3 separate regions of the Homo sapiens genome follow, and all the other regions are linked to region 3. The links are contacts of gene promoters, found by promoter capture Hi-C in blood cells and fetal thymus (Javierre and others, 2016). All regions are on one chromosome and are shown on one strand. The core of a region is centred on a gene start or on the middle of the fragment in contact, and the rest is flanking DNA. Distances in the headings are between cores, read along the strand shown. Region 1 overlaps MAD2L1 (mitotic arrest deficient 2 like 1). Region 2 overlaps MAD2L1-DT (MAD2L1 divergent transcript). Region 3 holds the start of SEC24D (SEC24 homolog D, COPII component).

What was found. The method cuts DNA at HindIII sites, captures the fragments that hold promoters and counts their contacts. A CHiCAGO score of 5 or more calls a contact.
Region 1: a contact is called between a fragment that was not itself captured here and the fragment with the promoter of SEC24D in region 3, in 10 of 17 cell types (naive CD8 T cells, naive B cells, total B cells and 7 more). The highest score is 11.0, in naive CD8 T cells.
Region 2: a fragment that was not itself captured here is called in contact with the fragment with the promoter of SEC24D in region 3 in 6 of 17 cell types (total B cells, naive B cells, total CD8 T cells and 3 more); the score reaches 14.5 in total B cells.

What each region holds. Positions count from the first base shown.
Region 1 is chr4:120,058,756-120,061,894 of GRCh38, forward strand. MAD2L1 (mitotic arrest deficient 2 like 1) reads right to left here. Exons shown (of 5, transcript NM_002358.4): 4 at 2,119-2,222; 5 at 1-1,535. The coding sequence ends at 1,363. Among named protein-coding and RNA genes, the nearest start is that of MAD2L1, 6.5 kb to the right of the region's middle. The HindIII fragment of the contact is 5,099 bases long and covers 1-3,139 here.
Region 2 is chr4:120,075,036-120,078,412 of GRCh38, forward strand. The region is part of intron 1 of MAD2L1-DT (MAD2L1 divergent transcript); the gene reads left to right. Among named protein-coding and RNA genes, the nearest start is that of MAD2L1-DT, 9.8 kb to the left of the region's middle. The HindIII fragment of the contact is 1,023 bases long and covers 1,424-2,446 here.
Region 3 is chr4:118,834,629-118,837,649 of GRCh38, forward strand. SEC24D (SEC24 homolog D, COPII component) reads right to left here and starts at 1,498. Exons shown (of 23, transcript NM_014822.4): 1 at 1,313-1,498. RefSeq lists enhancers at 854-1,745, 1,366-1,660 and a silencer at 1,172-1,661. The HindIII fragment of the contact is 6,235 bases long and covers 1-3,021 here.

The sequences.
Region 1 (3,139 bases), core at 332-2,831, 1.2 Mb after region 3:
TAAAGATATGAAGAGTCTACAAATTTGTCACTGAGAACCCAGAAACTGCCACTGATCCACAGTATTTGCTCAATATGTAATTTCTGAATGAACAGATTCAGACTATGTGCAATTACTTAAAAATAGTGAAGGTTAAATAAGTTAATACACATAAAGAACTTAGTGTCTAATAATAAACATTAATAAACTGAATTTTTACAAAATGAGGTCAGATTTAGATTAGAGATTAGAGAAGACTTTACAAATCTGCCTTAAACTGACCTTGGAAAAACAGGTGAGAACTGGATAGAAAGCATGTACCAGATGAGGGTATTAATGAAAGCACAGGAATAAGCATAGTATTTAAGTATATAAGGAAAAGTAGGCTGACAATAAGGCTAAGAGTATAGTAAAGTACTAAAATCAACACTTGTTCAACTGGAATTGTTGGACTAATTCCAAAGGACATTTATCTTTTCACAATGATGAAGTAATAGCCTTAAGTCTATTGCTATGAGATGAACAGGATGTGATCAAAGTTTATCCATTAGATTGAAGACACCTCAAGACTCACTCAACTTTGGACCCTTAAGTTCTATAACTTCGTAGGAACAAGAATTCATTAGCTATGCTGAATCAATTCTAATTACCATTTAACTATATCAACACCAAACCAGTATCAAAATGTTTTAAGACAAATTTAAAACAAACTTAACTTTATTTCCTCACTTTCACTTAAAACTTGATTTTATAAAACACATGAAAAAACATTTTTAAGAGTTCTGTATCACAGAACATTAAACAGTACAAATATCCATTGCTTCATAGGTTCAAGTTACATAAATTAAAGTCAAATAATTGGAAACTGATTCAATAGGGAAAACTATACATGAAATGAAGGTCAAAAGGAGCTATACAGCAATATTTCATTGTTTATAGATTATGAGTTACTTTCAGGACCTTAACAAAGATTCTGAATATTTAGACTTCCTTTGTTGTATTTTATACTTAAATATCTCCCTACCTATACTGAGTCAAACTACTTGACCAAAACATCTGATTTAGGAAAGCATCTAGCTTTATAGCACAAGTTTTTCCATCTACAGTTACTATCTTCAAAGGAATATACATCACAATGTTGACAAAAAAACCTCCTGGTTCCTTTTGAACAATGTGCAATAAATTCATGATGTTAACTCCATGGTAAGTCAAATAGGTACCAAAAAAATAAAAGGAACAATTACACACAGTTCAGTAAGTATCATTTTGGTTTTCTCCATGTAAAAATTAACCAATGAAATAAAACATATCAACTATAGATGACTTGATTTCAGGAAAACCACATTTCAAAATTACAATTACATTATTTTCCTCATGTCATCCTCAGTCATTGACAGGAATTTTGTAGGCCACCATGCTATTTACTTTGTGGATTGTAGTAGTAAATGAACGAAGGCGGACTTCCTCAGAATTGGTAATAAACTGTGGTCCCGACTCTTCCCATTTTTCAGGTACAACCAAATCTTTGTCTGTATAAATCAGCAGATCAAATGAACCTAAATTGGGGATAAGATCATTGAAGTATATTATTTTCTAAAAGTAAAACTAATCTTGCTGCCTCTCTTCTATTTTGAACCACTCACTGCTGGAAAAGGTCATTTGGCTTGGTCTCCAATCACTAGTTAATTTATTTTGCTCAATGAACATTTATTTCAGTAAAGAAAATATTGTATCTAACTTCCGTGCAATTTAGTGATTGTGTTCAAGTAACCCTTATCTTATTTAATAATGGTCCCAAAGCACAAGAATAGTGATGCCAGCATATTGTTATAATTGTTCCAGTTTATTATTAACTCTTACTATGCTTAATTTACATATTAAATTTTATCATAGGTATGTATGCATAAGAAAAAAACATTATATAGGGTTCATACTATCCATGGTTTCAGGTATTCACTGTGGGTCTCCCTGTGGAAAGGGAGACTACGATACATTACTTTTGCATGATAATGTTTTTCCTTCAATTTATATTACATAAATCTGATAAATAAGACAAAATTTAATAAAGGGGTGATTACGGCAGTAGCTTAGTCTTTTTGCCAATCAATTTAATTCAACAAGAAGTTGTATAATACTTACAAGAAACTTCCAACAGTGGCAGAAATGTCACCGTAGCTGTGATCTGTCTGATCACTGAACGGATTTCATCCTGGATAGCTTTCTGAGACTTTTCTCTGGGTGCACTGTCAAAAAAAAATCAAATCAATTAATTCATTTCAGGTCTTAACAAATTATTTCAAACATAGTGGTTAGATTATTTATCTGATTAAATGCTCTCAACATCAAATAAGCAGGGCTTATTTGAGAAAGGAGGTTTGTAAAAAATGTGAGTGAAAGTATCCTTCAGACCTACAACCTAGTAGGCACAACATTCATCCTTATTACTTCATTTATCCTGCCAGTCATCTTTTAGAGCTGGTCTTAGTGTCAGGTCATTTAGTATCAGATGACTAGAAAATTTGCCAATCACTTCAAGTTCAGGAAACTTCAGCATCTCTTGAAATAAAAATAAGTGATATCTAAAATATGTATTGGTATAATCATTTCAGCATTTTTAGTAATGCCTAAATGTCTAATTTCCTATTTTCTCAAATAAAACATTAAATTGTATATCAAATTATTTTATAAGCTAAAAATTTCCTAAAATACACCAAAGCCTTCAGAAGCAAACTACATTTCACTATAAGAAATGGTTCTCAGTTTATAGAAGAGCATGCCTAGGACAATGCATTTCTCTTCCAGGGAGTCTGGAACCTTCAGAAATTTATGAAGTGTCTTAGGAAGTAGATGGCATTAAAGGAAGTACAGCAGAGCTACATCTTAAATTGTGTGAGTCTAATATCATTCCTTATAGTTAAAAATATCTTAGAACAATTATTAAATGGTTCATCTAGTATATCATGTGTAGTTTTGTATATATCACCATAAATACTGTTTGAAAACTACTGATTTAGACTAAAGGCAATTATGTTAAAATTATATTATATATACAAATCAATGATATGCTAAACTGAGCACAATTCTTTTCCATAGGTGACTGAGGATATCTTAGAAAATATAAATTAGAAACAAACTATATTTTATATAAAACTAGTTCAAT
Region 2 (3,377 bases), core at 685-3,184, 1.2 Mb after region 3:
AATTCAGCTTATTTTAATAGTTTTTTTGTTTGTTTTGGGGGGTTTGTGTTTTTTGGCCAGCAGAGCTAAAAGAGATACACCACAAAGATATGAAGGTCCAAATGGAAGAAAGTACATTGTTGACTTCTTATTCTTTTTATTTACCTGTATTAGCAATTATGCAAAGTTTTTGCTGAAAAGGGATTATTAAATTTCAATTTAATGGTACCAATTAGGTGTTCTTACAAGCTGGTTAAAAAGTGACATATGATATTTTAATAATTTTAATGAATGTGTTCAAAAACAATGGTTTAAGCAGTTTTTTAACCCTTTTTTTTTTAAAAAAATATCAAAACAATACCTTCCTATTAGTTTGGGAACTAATTAAATGCATTGTTTGACCTTTTAGTTAGTTTTGGAACTAATTTGTAATTTAGAAAAATTATAGTTTAGAGAACTCTGTTTCCAAACTTTTCAATTGTACAGATGAGACTTTTTTAAAAAATAGTTTATCCAGGCCAGGTGCGGTGGCTCATGCCTGTAATCCCAGCACTTTGGGAGGCTGAGGAGGGCGGATGACGAGGTCAGGAGATTGAGACCATCCTGGCTAACACAGTGAAACCCTGTAAAAAAAAAAAAAATACAAAAAATTAGCCGGGTGTGGTGGCGGGCACCTGTAGTCCCAGCTACTCAGGAGGCTGAGGCAGGAGAATGGCATGAACCCGGGAGCTGGAGCTTGCAGTGAGCTGAGATCGTGCCACTGCATTCCAACCTGGGTGACAGAGCGAGACTCCATCTCAAAAAAAAAAAAAAGTTTATTCAAACGTGCTCCTTCCATAACATGAGTGTCTTTTGAAAAACGGAATGGAAGAATGTTAATTTTTCTGAAGTTCTTGTTAGCACAGTACTGCAAAGAGAAAGAGCCAGTAAATCTGGCACAGCTGACTTGCATTTCCTCAGGGTACCAATCATGGCCTATGACTCCCTTTTTTTTCTAAATTTTTAAAACTGACAAATAATAATTGTACATATTTACAGGGTGCATAGTGATGTTGTGGTCTATACAATGTATAGTGATCAGATCAGGGTAATCAGCCTATCTATCATCTTAAACATTTATAATTTCTTTGTGTTTCAAACATTCAATATCCCCATTCTAGCTATTTTAAACTATTATTAACTTGTAGGATGTAGTCATCCTACAAGTGCTGTAGAACACTAGAACTTACTCTTATCTAGCTGTAATTTTGTTTCCTTTAACAAATCTCTCTGTCCTCTCTTTCCGCCTACCCTTCCCAGCCTCTAGTATTCTCTGTTGTACTTTTTACTTCTGTGGGATCAACTTTTTTAACTTCCACATATGAGTAAGAACGTGACCTTCTGACATGGAGACTGTGTGAGTGTGCAATGTCAGTCCATTTTTTGAAATCCATTTTTTTAGTAAAGCTTATTTTCCTAGGTTAAAACATAAATTAAATAGAAGTTGTAACATTCCTTCCTATACTCCCAAAAGGATTGTTTTTTGCATATATTCCACTTTGGAAGCCACTGATTTTGAGGATGTTTGCAGAAACCTTATTGATTAGGGGATGAGGCACCTGAGTTGGGAATAGTAGTGTTCCGTGCTTGTCCTCTCTTCTAGGTAAATATGGAATAGACCTAGTTAGGATGGCTGACCTGCATGCCTATGTGGAAATTTGAAGTATCATTCTTTTTTTTTTTTTTTTTTTTCTGAGACAGAGTCTTGCTCTTTCACCCAGGCTGGAGCGTGGTGGCACCATCTCAGCTCACTGCAATCATCGCCTCTCAGGTTCAAGTGATCCTTATTCCTCAGCCTCCTGTGTAGCTGGGATTACATGCATGCACCATCACACCCAGCTAATTGTTGTATTTTTTAGTGGAGACAAGGTTTCGATGGTCTTGCACTCCTGGCCTCAAGTGATTCACCCACCTTGACCTCCCAAAGTGCTGGGATTACAAGTGTGAGCCGCCATGCCCGGCGTGAGCTATCATTCTTTATAATGGACTTTGCAGAACAATCCTGTAAGGAAAATACATTCTTATTGGGAAGGAGTGCTCCAGACTCTTGAACCCCATCTATTTACCACTGCCCAAAGCACAGAATAAAAGCCATCTTAGGGGTTTCAACAAATCCTGTCATAAAAGTCCACTTAGATCACATAAAAAAAAAAAACTTTATTACTGGTTGCATAATGAGGGAGTGTCATGGTCTTGTCTAAAAGAAGCAGGAATCTCCAAGCAATCTACCAACAGCAGAGATCACATGCAGATATGTCAAAAAAAGATGTTAGCCTAGCATGTTCCAGAGAAACTTCTTAGAAGCAGACTATCTGGACAATTTAAGAAGAATTATATAGGAGTTATTTTCCTTATCGGTAAAATGGATGTAACAATAGTACTTGTCACATATAATTTTTCTGAGTATTACATGAGATAATTTAAATGAAGCTTTGGCTTAATGCTAATATGTTATTGTTATTGTTTTATTATTATATTGTTACTGTTGTTGTTAATAAGACAGCTTTTCACCACTTTTCCACGCACCTTTCCTGGGTTGGTACATGTTTAGTTTAGCATAACTAAAGGAGGCTTTAGATAATACAACTTAAGGCACAGATGAGATAGAAACTCTTATAACATATATAATAATGATAGCCAACATTATTAACCACATACTATCTGCCAGGCACATTTCTATGTGCTTTACAAGAATCATTTTATTTAATCCCTCATTAGCTCAAGAGTTAGATACTACTATTACCTGAATTAAGTTACAGAAGGAAGTTGAATAATTTAGCTAAGGTCACCCAGCTAGGAGAACTGGAGTCAAATCCAAGCAATCTAGATGGTACCAGAATATGAATCCTGAAAGCATCAAAGATCTGACTATATTTTAGATAACTCTAATTTGAGGCAAACTATAGTGGGTCCTTAATATTCCTCCATCCTTGCTATGTAACTCCTGAGACCCATTCAGCAATGGAAACCAATGGAGCTGAATGGCTGGAAAGTCACAGAATTGGAACAAGGAAAATAATCCAAAAGTGGAAGAAAAGAGTCCAAAACTGGAGGAAAAGAAACAAGAGGTAGGATCCAGGGTGCAATACTGGCTCATCTGGCTAAGAGTGGATGGCCAAAAGGGGTACCCTGACTAGGGCTGCAAAAACAGGAATTTTTTAAAAATTTTGTGCTTAAAAGATCTTGTCAATTTTCTACTTAAAAGATCTTCAGTGAACTAAGAGGAGGCATTAAACAAATATTCTGGCCAAGGGATAGAATGGCATTTGAAATAGCCTACTCTTTGTCCTGCCAATTTTATTGATAGCTCAGACAAAAGGAAATGAGAATATGCAATACAGCAGGAATGTAAAAAGATG
Region 3 (3,021 bases), core at 248-2,747:
AGAGAAGTGGGTTTCCATTCTATGTCTGCCATACTTAACTGTGTGACATGGAATGAGCTGAAGAACCTCTCTAAGCCTCAGTTCCTTCTTTTAGAAAATGAAGCCTTTCCAGATTTCCACTGATTCTACAATTTATCTCCAGTTTATTTGCCCCATACAAGCATATTCTTCCTTTTGTTCTTTTATTTGCTACAATTTAAGATAAGAGATCAGTGATACCTGCTAAGACTTAGAATCTGTCTATATTCAAGAAATAACATTTCAAATTAAAAATTTGAAGCCTAAAATTTGTGATTTGATTTTGTTTCCATATTAAACTATAAGTTTCCAAAATAAAAGCAACCATGTAAAAATATTATGAGATCATTTCCTTCTCCTGGGAAGGGGAGAACTGAAAAAGAGGAGAGAGGCAGGCAAAGGCCTTCTGGTCCACTTTGTTTCTGACAACCCCTTTTTCCTCCTCCCACTTAGCAGAGAGAGACGTGGCAGCCTGAGCGCTGGTCAAGCTCATCCAACCAAGAGCACTTAGGAAGTCGGCACGAACACACCTAAGTAGCAGCCTGTTGCTGAGTGACAGAAAAGAGAGGCTGAGATGGTCACTCCAAAGAACAGGAAGCAGCCAGTTCCCTCTGAACTGGTCCTCAGAGGAATCAGCTTCCTCACGCAACCCAGTTTGCCACGTCAAACTTCCTCACACAGAGCACCAAGTTAAAGAAACCTGACTCAGCTTCAAGCGGCGACACGGCAGAAAGCCACTTGGTATAAGCAGGCCTAGGATCAAAATCTGGGGAGCCCCAACCCCAGAACGGCCCCCTGGCTCACTGTCACCCAGCAACTCTAGCCAAGGTGCACTTCTAACCCTGGAACAAGTTCGTATTTGGCCAGATCAGTTTCACTATTCGGATGTCCCGAGGCTTCAAGATATAGTTGCCATTTTTACCATGAATATTTCTAACATTTCCTTCCTTCAAAAAAGGAAATTAAGTTGATAAGGAGATGAGAAAACCGCTGGCAATGACACTCGAATGGTGGCCACTGAGGATCCTAACAAGGCAGTTCCTGCATCCCAAGGCAAAAGGTGGGGGCGGGTAAAAAATGCCCACGCCCACCTCCTGCTCCCCCATCCCGCCGGCCCCACTATTAAACTGCACTAGAAGGCTAAAGAACAAAGAATGAGTTCTCCTCCCGCCGCCACTGCCTCAGGTGAGCACCCGGCCTCCCGCCGCGTCCCCGGGCCGGGCGCCGCAACCCGCTCCGCTGTGCCTGGGCAGGGCTGTCCCGCATGAAGGCGTCCGCGGGTGGGAGGCTTTACCTGTTCCCGCTCCCGCACCCCGCGGGCTTCCGAGCGCTGGCGGCTCTGCGCCTAGTGCCGGCAGCCCTCGGTGGCCGGGCTCCCGCTGCGGTCGCTTCTCCCGCCGCGCCTCTTCCCCGGCCGGCGTCCCCTTAGCCTGGACTCACGCTCGGAGTTGCAGCTGGGCTGGGAACTGCCACGTCAAACCCTTTCTCGGCTGCGCGCCCCCAGCGCCGGGCTTGGACCAGCCGCCGCGCTCCCGCCTGCGCACGCGCACAGCCACCGGCCGCCGCGGGGCGGGGCCACCGGGCTGAGCCTGCGAGCGGCCGAGCGACCTCCCCCTTTTCGCTTTTTCCCTTTTTCCGGTTTTTTGTTTTTTGGTTTTCTTTTTCCCGTCTTTTCTTTCCCCTCCCCCTACAGGTCAAAGCCTTTAACGTCGTGGCTAAATCAGAACCGTATTTTCTCGGCGCAGCCCCGCAGGAAGGAGGGGAGCGCGTTCATTCATTCTTCCATCAACAGGTTGCAGTTTCAGCTCTTCATTCATTACGTATTACTTAAATAACTAATAGTTCAGGTACTGCACTACCGTTACATACGGGAAAGTACACGATCTGGACCTAGGGGAGATTACCGTTTAAAGGCGAATCTGGCACGTGTACACGCACATTTGATGACGTACCCGTGCAATGCACTACAGAGGAAGGAACGCCCAAAGCAGCCTGGCAACGTGTAACGCGGGAGGAGTGGGGGGTGGGGGAGATGTCCCAAAGGAAAAGTGTGGGAAGTGGGGTTTCCATTGATATTGGGGTTGTTAGCGTTGTGTATACTCCTTCTTCCGCATATTCCTTGTTTGTGAAGTAGGATGGCTGATCCCAGCCCCAAACAGGAATCTCTGCATGGAAAAGCACCCAGCGTTTAGCTCACCGTCCTGTGAGAAACAGCTCAGAAATAAAGGCAACCTATATGAGATCTGGAGCTTACCTCTCTATCTCACCCTAAAATCAGGACCATCTGGCTGGTTTCCTATCATCTTTCACTGCTAAATAGAAAGACATTCAGCCACTCCCAGGTTTGGTATAGCTACCACTTTGCTCAAACTTACAAAGTAAAAACCAGCCCGGTGTTGTTGTTTTTAACATGCACTTTCTTCCCGGCTACAAGAAAGCCACTTGACAAATACCTTTACTGATGAACTGCCTAGGTAAAAACGTACATGGGGATGTTGCTACTCCCGAAATGCTACATGAATTGTGCAGGAATTTTAAGTCATTTTAGCAGTAAAGATATATGGTCCATTTATCCCACTCTTAAAAGTTTTTAAGGCATGGGGCAAGGCACAGTGGCTCACACCTGTTATCCCAGCACTTTGGGAGGCCAAGCAGGGAGGATTGCTTGAGGCCAGGAGGCAGTGAGCTATGATCACACCACTGCGTTCCAGCGTGGGCAACAGAGTGAGACCCTGTCTCAAGAAAAAGAAAAAAAGATTTTAAGGTAAGATATCTGGCCTACATCCAGCTTCAACACTGATCAGGTTTGAAAACCCACATTGAAATTTTTGTTTTAAATTGTTTCTTGTATTCTCAATGTGATGAAAATGTTCAGTGGAAGTTTAGGAAGTTTTGGCCGGTGTTGAAGCAGTACAGCTTGTAAAAGCAGTGAAAGAACTTGTCATATAACAGCTACATTACAAGGAGCGAGTGAAGCTATGATACAAAGATAGGAGAGAGTAA